2 separate regions of the Homo sapiens genome follow, and region 1 is linked to region 2. Evidence: promoter capture Hi-C in human tissues and cell types (Jung and others, 2019). All regions are on one chromosome and are shown on one strand. Each heading gives the region's core, a stretch centred on a gene start or on the middle of the fragment in contact. The rest is flanking DNA. Distances are from core to core; before and after follow the strand shown.

The links. The method cuts DNA at HindIII sites, captures the fragments that hold promoters and counts their contacts. A contact is called where the count stands out against the background at its distance.
Region 1: a fragment that was not itself captured here is called in contact with the fragment with the promoter of PBK in region 2 in 1 of the 25 tissues and cell types used here (dorsolateral prefrontal cortex).

Annotation. Positions count from the first base shown.
Region 1 is chr8:28,181,774-28,188,402 of GRCh38, reverse strand. All of the region lies in intron 14 of ELP3 (elongator acetyltransferase complex subunit 3), which reads right to left. LOC105379343 (a long non-coding RNA gene) reads left to right here and starts at 5,870. Exons shown (of 2, transcript XR_949614.3): 1 at 5,870-5,967. RefSeq lists an enhancer at 2,665-3,167. The HindIII fragment of the contact is 3,059 bases long and covers 1,740-4,798 here.
Region 2 is chr8:27,834,361-27,841,058 of GRCh38, reverse strand. PBK (PDZ binding kinase) reads left to right here and starts at 3,242. Exons shown (of 8, transcript NM_018492.4): 1 at 3,242-3,407. It also overlaps the pseudogene LOC100130612. RefSeq lists enhancers at 2,953-3,002, 3,073-3,132. The HindIII fragment of the contact is 7,721 bases long and covers 22-6,698 here.

The sequences.
Region 1 (6,629 bases), core at 2,020-4,519, 350 kb before region 2:
CAGGAGCCCACCAAGAGTCACCAGATTAGAACAAAAGATGCCCCTTGAACCCCTGCAGCTCAGAAAATTACAAGGGTTTTAGGAGCTCTATGTCAGGAACCAGGAACAGAGACCAAATTATATTTTTTATGATGTCTCAACATTCAAGGAACATGAACTAGTTGAAGTTGGTACTAAAGGTCCATTACCCCTGCATATTGGACGCATTCCTCAAACAGCCCGGCTGTCTGTGCCTGGGAGTGAGACAGCTGAGGCTGGGCGGGGAGAGCGATCAGCAGCACCTGCCACAGGCACTCCCTCCGTCCTTCCCTCCCTCTCTGCACGTCCCTGCACTGGGCTTTGGAGAAGTGCATCTCCTGATTCTCCTCTAGCTCGCTGGCTGCCCTTCCTTAGTCTCCTTTGCTGCTTCCTCCTCGTATCCCTAACTGAAATCACTGCAATATGCAGCTCTTCTGTGCACGCGCTTCCTGTGACACTGAGCGTAAACCTATGTATACACTGGCAACCCCTAAATCTGTCACTCAGAGCTCTCCTTGAGCCTCAGATTCGTCCACAGGTGCTGCATGACCCACCTGAATGTCTAAATTGCATGGAAGGTGTAGCAGGTCAAAAACCCAACTCCTGGTAACCTGCCCCGCAAGCTCCCTCCGCAGGAAGCTCCCTCTCTGTAAATGGCCACTCCACTGCCAGTTGTTCAGGGCAACTCATTCCCATCTTTCTGTCAAATTCCAAATCAAGAGACTTGAATAAAATGAAAGAGAAAGGCCTGAGGCTACATGGGGGGGACAGGATTCTAGGGAGCAGGAAAAACAAATGTGAAAGTCCTGAGACGGGCGTGCACTCAACTTACTCAAGGAACAAGGAGGCACCATCATGCAGGTCTCCTAAGGAATCTGGCTTTTATTCTGAGTGAGATGGAAGAATGAGAGGATGCTGGTCAAAGGAGGGACATGATCTGACTGCTGTTTTGAGAACAGAATGAAGGCTCCAGGAGGGCAGGGATTTTGTTTTATTCACTGTAGAGCTGCCAGTACCCAGAGTGATGCCTGTCACATGTGAGGTACACGGTAAATATTTGCTCACTGAATGGATATGTGACCAAGGGCAGAAATAGGGAGATCAGGTAGGAAGCGATGACAATAATCCAGGTGGGAGATGGTGGTGGCTCGGGCTGAGTCACAGTGGTGAAAAGTACCCAGAGCCTGGGCATATGTGGAAGGCAGAGTGAAAAGAATCTGCCAACGGATGTGGGGTGTGACGGGAGCCAAGGCGACTCCAGGGTATTTAGCCTGAGTAAAGGAAGAGTCTGGAGAAACAGGAGCCACCACTGCCTGGGAGTGAGGAGATGGTGGGAAGAGCTTGCAAGAGGAATCAGGAGTGGGGCTCCAGTCAGGCTGCATGTGGAATGGCTGCTAGACATTCATGCCAAGATGCTGAAGACTCTGATTTTGGAAGCTTTTGTTGTTCTTAAAGAGACACAGGGAGTGCTATGGGTTAGGTATTTGTCTCCTCTGAAACTCATGTTGAAACTTAATCCCTATTACTGAGAGGTGGGGCTATGAAGAGGTGACTAGAGTGTGAGGGCTCTGCCCTCATGAAAGGATTAATCTATTCATGGACTAACAGGATAATGAGTTCTAGTGGTTTTACAAGAAGAGGAACAGGGTCCTGAGCTGGCACATGCAGCCCTACCACTGTGTGATGCCATGTGCTATCCTGTGCCACCGCAGGACTCCACAGAAAGTCCCCACCTGCAAGAAGGCCCTCACTAGATCCAGCCCTTTGACCTTGGACTTTTCAGCCTCCAAAACTGTAATAAATAAATTCCCTTTCAGGTATCCTGTTATAAGCAATCGAAAATGGACTTAGGGACGGTCTCTTTTCTTGGATGTTGCTTTGCAAGGTAATTTCGGACGGGGGCAGTTGTCTTCCAAGGGGCTGAAGTGGTGATGAAGAGTGAGAAGGCAGAGCCACCTGGCTCCTTTTTGAAATTGCCGAACCCTGAATTAATCAGTCCCAAAGCTTCTCTATATATTTCTTATGAAATATTTTCCATTTGGTTTAAGCCATTTTGAGGATATTTTTGCTTTTAAGTATACAGCTCGGTGTTGCTAAATACATTCACACTGTGGTACAACTATCACCACCATCCATCTCCAGAACTCTTTATCTTGTAAAGCTGAAACTCTGTACCCACTAAACACCAACCCTACTTGCTCCCCCTCTCCCAGCCCCTGACAACCCCCGTTCTACTTTCTGTCTCCATGAATTTGACTCCTGTAGATACCACATGTAAGTGGAATCATGTAATATTTGTCCTTTTATAACTGGCTTATTTCACTTAGCACAATGTCTTCAAGGTTCATCCATGTTGGGTATAAGTCACTGAGCTGAGTTTTCTGTTACTTGTTAACTAAAAGTATCATAACTGACAAGGAAGCTTGAGGACAGGAAGAGAAAAACAAATGAGGTCAAGCCACTATTTAAAATCAGAATTCGGAGTAATTCTGAACACACTGCTCTCCTGCTTAGAATCACTAATGATGTGTCCCAAGATAAAGTTCAAATTCCTTAGCCTGATCCACAAAGTCTTTCCTGCCCAGACCCTTCAACTTTAGTTCCTGGCACAGTTGACTAGGTCCAGGATCAGCAAACCAGCCCAGCATCACCACGCGGGCTCAGCCACTGCCTCTGGGCGCTTCCCTCAGCAGCCGCCCATTCTGTCTGCTAAGGCCCTCCCAGCCACCCTCCCACTCATCCCCCACCAGGAGACCTGTGCAGATACTTCCCCTATCTACAAAGAAGCCAGAATTCACAGCACTCTCTCTCCAGGCTGGCTGTGTGCCTTAATTAGAGTTCCACTGTTTTAGTAATCACACTGCGCAGGTCTGTCTCCCTCCCTAGGATGTCAGCTCTTTAAAGTCAATGGCTTCTATCATCAGTGTCTGGCATATAATCAAGATGCAATAAATGTTTGCAGATCTCTCATATGCTGTTCAGCTATTCTTATGTTGTGTATATACAAAGAAATGTGTTCCTGGAGGATGTATTTGAAAAAAAAATTGGCTCTATGTTGGGTGTTGGGTAATGGAATGATTCAATGTACAAGAGCTGAAGGGCAGGATGACTTCTTAACCTAGGTACAAATTTCCTACCTTGTTAGCTGAGAGATTAAGAGGCAGCTTCCTGACTTATATTATTATCTCTATCTAACAAAAACTGCCCCAAATCTTTCAGAAATACTTCTGGCTTTTTATGTTTCTATTTTACTTTTACAAAACAGATACTGTTTTCCATGGACTTAAAACAATGTATCTTGGAGAATGTCAAACACACAAAAGTGCAGAAGACAGTGCACTGAACCTCCCTGCACCCATCACTCAGCTTTAGCAGGGACAATTCACCCAGGAGATCTCTCTCTTTTTTTTTTTTTTGAGATGGAGTTTTGCTCTTGTCACCCAGGCTGGAGTGCAATGGCATGGTCTTGGCTCACTGCAACCTCCGCCTTCCACCCAGGAGACTTCTGAGTTTCGAGCTTTCTACTCACGTGAACTTAGAAAACATCTCTAACATTTCCTTTTGGTTCTGCTCAGCTCAGTTCCTGGAGACATGTTTAGTTTTGCTCTTTTATATGTCCTCTGTCAAATGAAAATGATGGCCTAATTTTAAGATGGAAGATGTGTAATTGTTGGTCAAAGTGCTTTACTTCCAAAAATATGCATCAACCTATATTTGTCTACCATAAATGGCTGCAGAGGTGAGAGAGAAGAGTTCCTTACATCTAACACAGGACTGGACAGTCCTTGGATAACCAGAAAGTTCAACAATCAAGAGTGCCCTGATTTCTTAAGCATGCTGGTTAAAAGAGCTGCTTTACTGGGGTACATCTAAGCATTTCTCATCATGATTCCCACGGAGCTACAGGCTCCTTGGGCCTTCTACTTTTTCCTTTCTACAGGGGGTGTGCCCTAGAAACGATTACCACCTTGGGCAGGGGCACTCAGGCCTCACGATGGGCCTTTTGGAGGAAAGCTGTATATTGAAGTTCTTGTCCTTATTTTCAATAAGACGCAGCAGGCCTGAGATGGCGAGCTCAGCCCTGAGATGGAACACTGTCTCCAGGTCCTCTGAGAAGTGCTGGCATCCAGGGAAGGGAACTTCACCTCTAGTCAGTCTGGACTCTAACCTCTGCTCACCTAAAGAGCTAAATTTCTTTCTGCCTCTTGTTTTTTGAAAGAAAAATTTCCTCCTGTTTCTACAACCTGCAGAACAGGTTGGGAAAGGCATTACCCCTGCACTTAGCCACCAAGGCTGGGTGAGGGCCTTGCTCTGCTCTGATCCCCTCTCCATGCTCAGCAGGGCTCCCAGAAAGTCCTCTGTCATAGTAACTTTCCTTTTGTTAGCCAGCCAAGAAAAAGCAATCATCCTTCAGAGCTGACGTCAGCCACCCTCCTGGACTGACATGCAGGCTGCCTGGACCGTCTCCGAGCCCTCAGCCTAACTGCTCTGCCTCCGCCAGAGGAGAGGCGCCCACAGGCTGTACAAGGAACCAAGTGCTCCACCCGATGGCCTGCGTGGGGTTCTGCCAAATCCCTGGGATGGGGAATGTGCAGGAACTCACTCCATGCAGCGGCCTCAGGGTGCCCTGCTACAGAGCCAGCATTAAGAACGGCAGGAGTGGGGAGAGTCCAAACGCAGGCTTTGTTTTGTAGCACTTTGGGAGGCTGAGGAGGGTAGATCACCTGAGCTCAGGAGTTCGAGACCAGCCTGGGCAACATGGCAAAACCCTGTCTCTACTAAAAATGCAAAAAGTTAGCTGGGTGTGGTGGTGAGTGCCTGTAATCCCAGCTACTCGTGAGGCTGAGGGGTGAGAATTGCTTGAACCCAGGAGGCAGAGGTTGCAGTGAGCTGAGATCGTGCCACTGCACTCCAGCCTGGGGGACACAGCGAGACTCTCTCAAGAAAGAATGGCAGGAGTTGGGGGAGTCCAAACACTGGCTTTGTTTTATCCTCCCAAGTTCACTCATCTACACCCTGAGCTTTCCTACATGACCTTTTCCCTACTCTGTAGGCAGGATAAATATTTTATCTTCCCCATTCAACCAGCAATGATGATGAGTTAGGTGAAAAAAGAATACCTTGCAAAGTGCCTAGAGTGAACAGCTTCTGTGGTGGCCTCCCCTCTGCCTCTGCCCCAGGACATCCACCCCTTTGGGGAGAAGAAAACAAGCCTGTTTATTTGTACACGAGCTTTACTATATGTAAGTTATTAAAATGACTTCCACTGCACACACTTTAGATCAATTATAGATAGACCCATGGAAAGGGGTTACATTAAAGGCAGAGGACACTGCTTGCTCTGGGATGGGCCGAGAGGAGTAGAGTTATTCAGCACTCAGTGGGAAAGCCCCCTTCCCAAGGATGACCTCTGGCTACTGCTCCAAGGCTGGCTGCCAAGAGCCCCTGGCCTCCCTGTGAATCTCCAACCCGGAGGAGACCCAGGGGTACAGCATCTCTCTGATCCTTTTCTGAACCAAATGTCCTCAAGCCCCTCATGATGAGAAAGAAATCCTCTGCTTTGATTCCATGTCCCTCTCCAAAAGATACGCACCACGTGGCTTAATCTGCTAACTCAAAGGATTCGGGAAAGGGGGAAAATCACAGGCAATGCATATGCCGGAGCCTGGGCCTCTGGCTGCAGGAGCACGCTCATCCTGGGCTGCTCAATGCTCTTTAGTAAAAATGGGAAATCAAATCACACAACCTTAGACTAACCAAAGGCCAAAAAAAAGGGGGGGTGGGTGGAGAACAAACCCAGATGTGGTTTTTTTGTTTGTTTTTGAGACGAAGTCTCTCTCTTGTCACCCAGGCTGGAGTGCAATGGCGTGATCTCGGCTCACTGCAACCTCTGCCGCCCAGCTTCAAACGATTCTCCTGCCTCAGCCTCCAGAGTACCTGGGATTACAGGTGCATGCCACCACACCCAGCTAATTTTTTGTATTTTTAGTGGAGACAGGGTTTCAACATGTTGGCCAGGCTGGTCTCGAACTCCTGACCTCAGGCAATCCATGTGCCTCAGCCTCCCAACGTGCTGGGATTACAGGTGTAGCCACTGTGCCCGGCCGCAAACCTAGATGTTTACTTAAATTCTGCTGTGATTCTATTTTAGAGAGAAATTGTAGGGGAAAGAGTGGGGAGATAGAGTAAGCCAGTCTGTGTGGTACCTGAGTTCACTGAAAACCAACTCTTTGTTCCTCCAAGTTACTGCAGCCTTCTGTTCTAAGGGGATAAATGCAATACCAGAGTAAAGCCTTTGGACACTAAAAATAAGTATACCTTTCCTCTAAAAGGGAAAATAAATCACAAATCAAGAGCAGGAAATGAACCTAAGTGCTACCTAGCTTGTGATTCTAACTCCATCTCAAAACAAACAAACAAACAAAGAAAACCACTTGATAGCTAAGTGACTATAAAGTTAGAGGGAGATTTAAATACCTGCCAGGCACTGGATTGCTAAAGCCTCTCCATGCACTAATTTATTTAAAATGTAACAAGATTGCAATTATTGTCCTAGGAGAAAGATGAGTTTCAGAATGGGTCATAACTCAAGGCCACACTATAGGGAAGCA
Region 2 (6,698 bases), core at 1,993-4,492:
AAGTCTAAGGGCAACATGGTTTCGAATTGCGGCTCTACCAATTGTTAAATCCTGTGACTTTAGGCAAATTACTTAACATTTCTGTGCCTCAGTTTCCTCATTTGAAAAATGGAGTTTATAATCATAGTAACCTACATCATAGAGTTATGAAGATTAAATGAGCTAATACATGAAACAAGACCTGACATACAATAAATACTAAATAAGTATTTGCTATTATTGTTATTGTTTGATTTGGAAGAAAAATGACTATTAAAGGGGGTGAAGGTAAAGACTTAGGAGAGGAGGAGTGATTTGGTTAAGTTTCCTTAGCCCCCATCCCCTGCCTCCTCCTGAGACGGGCTAAGGAAGCTTAGGGATGCTGAAAGATTGGACTTTGAAGGGTAGAAGTAGGTGCTCTATAAATGTGTTTTTTTTTAATTGATGAAGGACAACTTTATTATTTTACACTTAAAAGCTGATGAAAAACCATTACTTATCCTATTAAAGAAAATCTAATATTTCAATTGAAAATAGAGTATACTCATGAAATATTATTTAAGTTTTCTAAAACACAACTTGAAAGCATCCAGCATGCATGATTAATTTCAGTACAGTGAATTCAAGGTCAAGTATACATGTTACATACATCAAAGCTAGATTACAAATTATCGTCCTCATCATCATCATTATCATCTTCTTCATGTTTTTTTTTCCATTGGCAGTAGTTTGTGATGACACCATATTAGTGTAATAAGAATGCCTCTGGACCATTCGTGATGGATTAACCAGAACATTCTGAATTGCTGATGTTACAGGAATTCACGCTTCACAGGGCAATGTGAAGCAGACATCTACACTGTAAACCTTTGCCTTGTGAGGGACATTTGAGTCCTTACTTTAGTTGCCACAAACATGGTTTGGGGGGTGGTGTGCCTAGTGTGTGAACACCTGGTCGGCTAGTAACTGAACCAACATTTAATCTGGGTGAGACAGAAATAATGCAGGGTGTTCACAGGAGAATAAAAACTCCAGACAGCAGTTTCCCATGAGTAGGGGTTATGGGCTGATGAACCCCTGAAAAACAGGGTGTGCACCAAGCTGGCTAAGACCAACTAGACCCAAAGTGGTGCTGGATTTGACCTAGGTTTCACCTAGGACCTCATTATATGCTCATTAACACACTAAATCACACCCACCAGCGCAATGACAGTTCTGGGAACACCCATATTTGGTGTAAAAACGAGTGGCACCACAGTTCCAAGAAATCTCCATCTTTTTCCAAGAATTGTCATAAATATTCCACCCCTTGGTTGAAGAAACCCATACAGAGAGAAACCGCACACCCCACTGTGTGACTCTCTTGAGTACGCCCGCAATCCCCTTTCTTAAGTGTGTACTTTTTCCCTTTGCAACAAATCTCCATACTTTCACTATTTTCCAACTCATCCTTGAATCCATTCTCAAGACGGTGTCAAGAGTCTGGACACCTGCGGGGGTCCAGGACCCACCGGCATTTGAGGACCTCCCCTGGCCCACTGATATCATGGGGACTGTTATTCTTCCCTCAGACGTAGATGCCTTTTTCTGTAAAGACTTAAGCCTGTATGTATGAGACAGAAGTTTGGCAGGACTGATTTCACAAGATAGAGGTCACAAAGACCCCCACTGATAAAACAGATGCAGTAAAGAGGGTGGCCCAAACCCACCAAAACCAAGAGGGCACCCCATAGGGGGCCACTCAGCGTTCCCTTTCCTGGCACACCAGGGTTGGAAAAACCACTCCAGGCAAAGAACCCGGATCAAGATTGAGACTGAAATCCACTAGTGGATGACCTCTGGTCATCCTCACTGCTCATTACAGGCTAATTATAATGATTTAGCTGCCGAAAGACACTCCCCCTGAGTGCCATGACGGTTTACAAATGCTATGGCAACCCGGGGAACTTATTACCCTACATGGTCTAAAAGGAGGAGGAACCCTCAGTTCCAGAAAATCCCCAGGGCCTTCTTGTAAAACTCATGAATAATCCATCCTCTATCTAGCATATGATCAAGAAATAACGGTAAAAATAGCCCATCTGCAGCCCTCCAGGCTGCTCTGCCTGTGGAGTAGCCACTCTTATTCCTTTACTTTCTTAATAAACTTGCTCTCATTTTACTCTATGGGGCTGCTCTCGAATTCCTTCCTGCTCCAAGCCAGGTGGCCTCTGTGGCTGTACCCTAGTTTTGGGGTTTTCCCTGCAACATATAGTTTGGAGCTGTTAAGCAATATCTATTGGGTGGCATTCTAGGACTTGAATACGGCTTGATCAAAGGCGAAGGGGTTTGATTTCTTTGCCTTGCAATATCTAATAAAAATCTCTTGGGGCGGAGAGGTAAAAAAAAACTGGTCGGCGCACACTGGATTGCAATTGCACACCAGTAGCTTTCTTAGCATGGCTTGAGTAAATTTTTGCATCATCCAGAACTGTGGTCACATAGGGGAAGGCAAACTCCAACATGTGATTTATACGTCTTGGCTCATATTCTTTGATCCCCACGACCCTCAGGACCTGCGCCATCCTCGGGGGATGCCTCAGGGCACATCTTCCTGGGGAGAAGCCCTGATCAGAGTTGCGGGGCTTTGTCACCTACATTAATGGATTCCAGTCCCGATCTTGATGCAAGTTCTTTGCTTACTGTGGTTTTTCTAACCCTTGGTGTACCTCGAAACAGAAATGAGCGGCCCCACAAGCGGTACCCCCTGCCCTGAGCTCTGGGCCCCTGGTCTGCCCCACGGCCCATCCCCTCCTGGGGAGCAGATGTTCCTAAATAATCGTTGAATAAATTAAAGAATGTTGAATTGAATGTGGCAATTACATGAGTTAGCAACATTTCTAAATATCTTTTTTTTCCCTCGGCTAAAGATGATTGTTCCTTAAGCTACGCATTTGTCTTTACAGTGTTTCAAGGCCTCATAAACCTATAATAAAATTGACGTCATAATCACGACACATTCAACACAGATGTGAGCGTTTGGAGAGAGCTTCAGCCTTCAGCACAGGCAACTGTGTTCTATTCACCGGGCTGTGCTCCTCGGAAGGGCTGGTGGTTCCTGTAAAAGTTTGTGCTCCCCGCGCCTTTCCTTCCTTCCCTCGTCTTTGGCGCCTGCGGGCACCGGGAGTCCTGGGAGAGGGAGGAGGAACGGCGAATCGGCGGGGCGTGTCCTTCACGCCGCCCCGTAGCTCGGGGCCGAAGCTGGCGCAGCGCGCGACTTTTTGAAAGCCAGGAGGGTTCGAATTGCAACGGCAGCTGCCGGGCGTATGTGTTGGTGCTAGAGGCAGCTGCAGGGTCTCGCTGGGGGCCGCTCGGGACCAATTTTGAAGAGGTACTTGGCCACGACTTATTTTCACCTCCGACCTTTCCTTCCAGGCGGTGAGACTCTGGTAAGAGGAGCTTTTTTTTTGCGAGCCCTGGCGGGGGCCGAGCCCGGAGCCGAGGCCTCTGCGGGGGCTTTCGTGACAGGGGAGGATCTGGTTACAGCCAAAGAAGGATTTTGGCAGCCAGCCCCTTGTGAGCCCCTGGATTGGGGTAAACAGTCTGACCTCCACCCCCGAACCCTGCTGAGCGTGTGAGATGCAGAGGACCTGAGAGTCATGCGGCCCACACTTTCTCTTTGCTTCCCCTTGGAGTTTCTACATCTACTTTGTTTCTCTTTTCTCCTTTACTTTTTCTCTCATTCTTTTAATTTTCCGTTTTCTGCTGCCCGTCCGCGTCGTAGCTTTGTCAGTAGTGTCCAGGTATTTGTTGAGTCCCAGGGTCCCAGGCTTAGGGCCCAAAGGTCACTGACGTTTGACCCGGTAAATCTGTAGATTAGCTTGCTTGAGCGCTGCTCACTTTAATGCTGCCTCTTAAACAGTACTTGATTGTTAAAAATATCTTACGTATTCCACAGAGTATGAAATTCTGCTCACGGTCATCCTACTGCCATTTCTAATTTATCTTCATCTAAATATTCACTGTTTTTTTTGCTGTCATCTTCATGAGAACCTTGTGATTTAGAATTAGTATGGTTATTTAACAATTAATGTTAAGAATGCATATACAATACATAACATAATCTGAAGCAGAGTCTGGGCTACTGGCCAAAAGCTATCTGTCAGCAGTTAATGCCTAAACCTGAGTGTGCAGTCTGGAAAAAAGTGGCCCTCAGACAACTGTGAAATGGATAGGACATGGTACATTGAGGTGCAAATAGCTTAGAGTAGAAGGTGGGACTCAGTCGTAAGAGAACATAATGAAATGTTACGACTTCTGTTTAAACCTAGTTGTTTTTAGAGATAGGTTTTCTTTTTTAAAACGTGCTGCTTCTGAATATCAAATCCTCCGTAGAGTGAGCGGGAAAAGGCAGTGAGACTCATAAGGCTCATCATAAGATTTCCAGGACACTCTACGCGCCAGGGTTTTCTGCATCCTACTTTGTTGGCACCTCCTTGGTTGCTTTGTTTTTCATTTCTCATGCTTGGATGCCCTAGGGCTCACCCCTCTTCTCTCTACAGTTACTCCCTAGATGATCTTACCTAGTCTCTTGGCTTTAATAACGTCTGCGTGCTGCCATCCCACAAACTTAAATCTTCAGCTTGCATTCTAGATCCGTATCCACCCACCTATTTGACTCCTCCACAAAACTCTCCAACAGCTTTCTGTTTCTCAGTACAAGCTGAAATCTTGACTGTGACTACAGTTGAGTAGAAGTCACAGTCCTGTGGCTACAATGCTCTACTTGACTTGCCAGTCCCTACCCTCAGCCTCCCTGACTTTGTCTCATTCTCCCCCTTGCTAGCTCGCCTCTTCGTGAAGATTTCTGCCTCAGGTCTTTGTATTTCTTGTCCTCTCTCTGGAAGACTTTCACTAGATACTTGCTTGGGCCTGCTCCCTCACTTCCTTCAAATGAGTTTCTCAAGGAGACCTTTCTTGACCACTTTAAACTCAAATATTAAGCCCCTTCCCAAGGCCTTCTGCTCCCTTCACTGATATATATTTCCCCTGAAATAGTATATGTTTATCTTCATACTTGTTTGGGTCTTGTTTGCTGCTCTATTTCCAGAGTGTAGAACAGTGCACTGTTAGAGCACATGGTATGTGCTCGAACAGTGCACTGTTAGAGCACATTGTATGTGCTCAGTGTGTGCATATTGACTGAGTGAATGAAGAGTAGCTTCACATAGGTAGATAGAAATCTTAGAAGAAGCTGGATGTGGTGGCTCACGCCTGTAATCCCAGCACTCTGGGAGGCCAAGGCGGGTGGATCACCTAAGGTCACGTTTGAGGCCAGCCTGACCAATATGGTGAAACCCCATCTCTACTAAATACAAAAAATTAGCCGGGCATGGTGGCACATGCCTATAATCCCAGCTACTTGGGAGGCTGAGGCAGGAGAATTGCTTGAACCTGGGAGGCAGAGGTTGCAGTGAGCCGAGATTGCACCATTGCACCCCAGCCTGGGCAACAAGAGCAAAACTCTGTCTCAAAAAAAAAAAAAAATCTTAGAAGATCTCTGAGGTGCCACATCACAGCATCCCATGGGGAAAGATAACACAGATGGAAGAAGGGGAGTCAGAATGACATGGGGAAATTATTTCCGAAGTAGAAATACCTCCTGCAACCCACTCTGCTAAATAGTTTATCCTTTCCCAAAGTTCTGAAACTGGTTTCAGAAATTCTGCTGTTCCTACCGTCAAGTTAAATGGGTCACTTCATAAAATTATTATACTCTTGACAAACACATGTAAAGGGGCTCTTCGGTGTTCTCAGGACAGGTAAATCTGAAGACAATAGTGATTGTAGCTACATTTTAAACAAGATGAACAAGCTTGTCATTAATAGTTAAAGCTGGGCCTTTGAGATGATTTTCTTCCCCTTAGTACAGTTTTTAAAGATGCTATTATTAAGGGCTCTATAAAAAATTTAAGCAAATCTGTCTGCCTCCCAACTTTTTATAGACAAATGAGCTTATAGACATGTAGGAACAGTTTTGCTTTATAATAAATAAATCTAATAGGAAACCTAATTTTTTAAAAAGAAATATAATTTTTAAAATAAAAAAATTCTTAAATATGTTACGAAGAAGTAAACACATTGAGTTGCTTTGTTTATATATGTGGTATGTACATTTTCTTTTCTTCCGTTCTTTTTTTTTTTTGAGATGGAATCTTGCTCTTTTGCCCAGGCTGGAGTGCAGTGGCACGATCTCTGCTCACTGCAACCTCCGCCTCCCAGGTTCAAGCGATTCTTCTGCCTCAGCCTCCTGAGTAGCTGGAATGACAGGTACACGCCACCACACCTGGCTAATTTTTTTGTATTTTTAGTAGAGACGAGGTTTCGCCATGTTGGCCAGGCTGGTCTTGAACTCCTGATGTCAACTGATCCGCCTGCCTTGGCCTCCCAAAGTGCTGAGATTACAGGCGTGAGCCACCATACCCGGCCTCATTTTATTTTCATAGACAATTTTTATAACCATTTATTGAGATAATTAATGTATCATAAAAATCCACCTTTTGAAAGTGTAAAATTCAATAGTTTCTAGTATACTCAGAGATGAATATATTAAACCATTATCTGGTTTTAGAACCTTTTCTTCACCCCAGAAAGAAATCCCATACCCACTGGCAGTCATTCTGCATTCTTTGTCTCCCAGTCCTTAGTAACTATTCAGCTATTTTTGTCTCCATGATTTG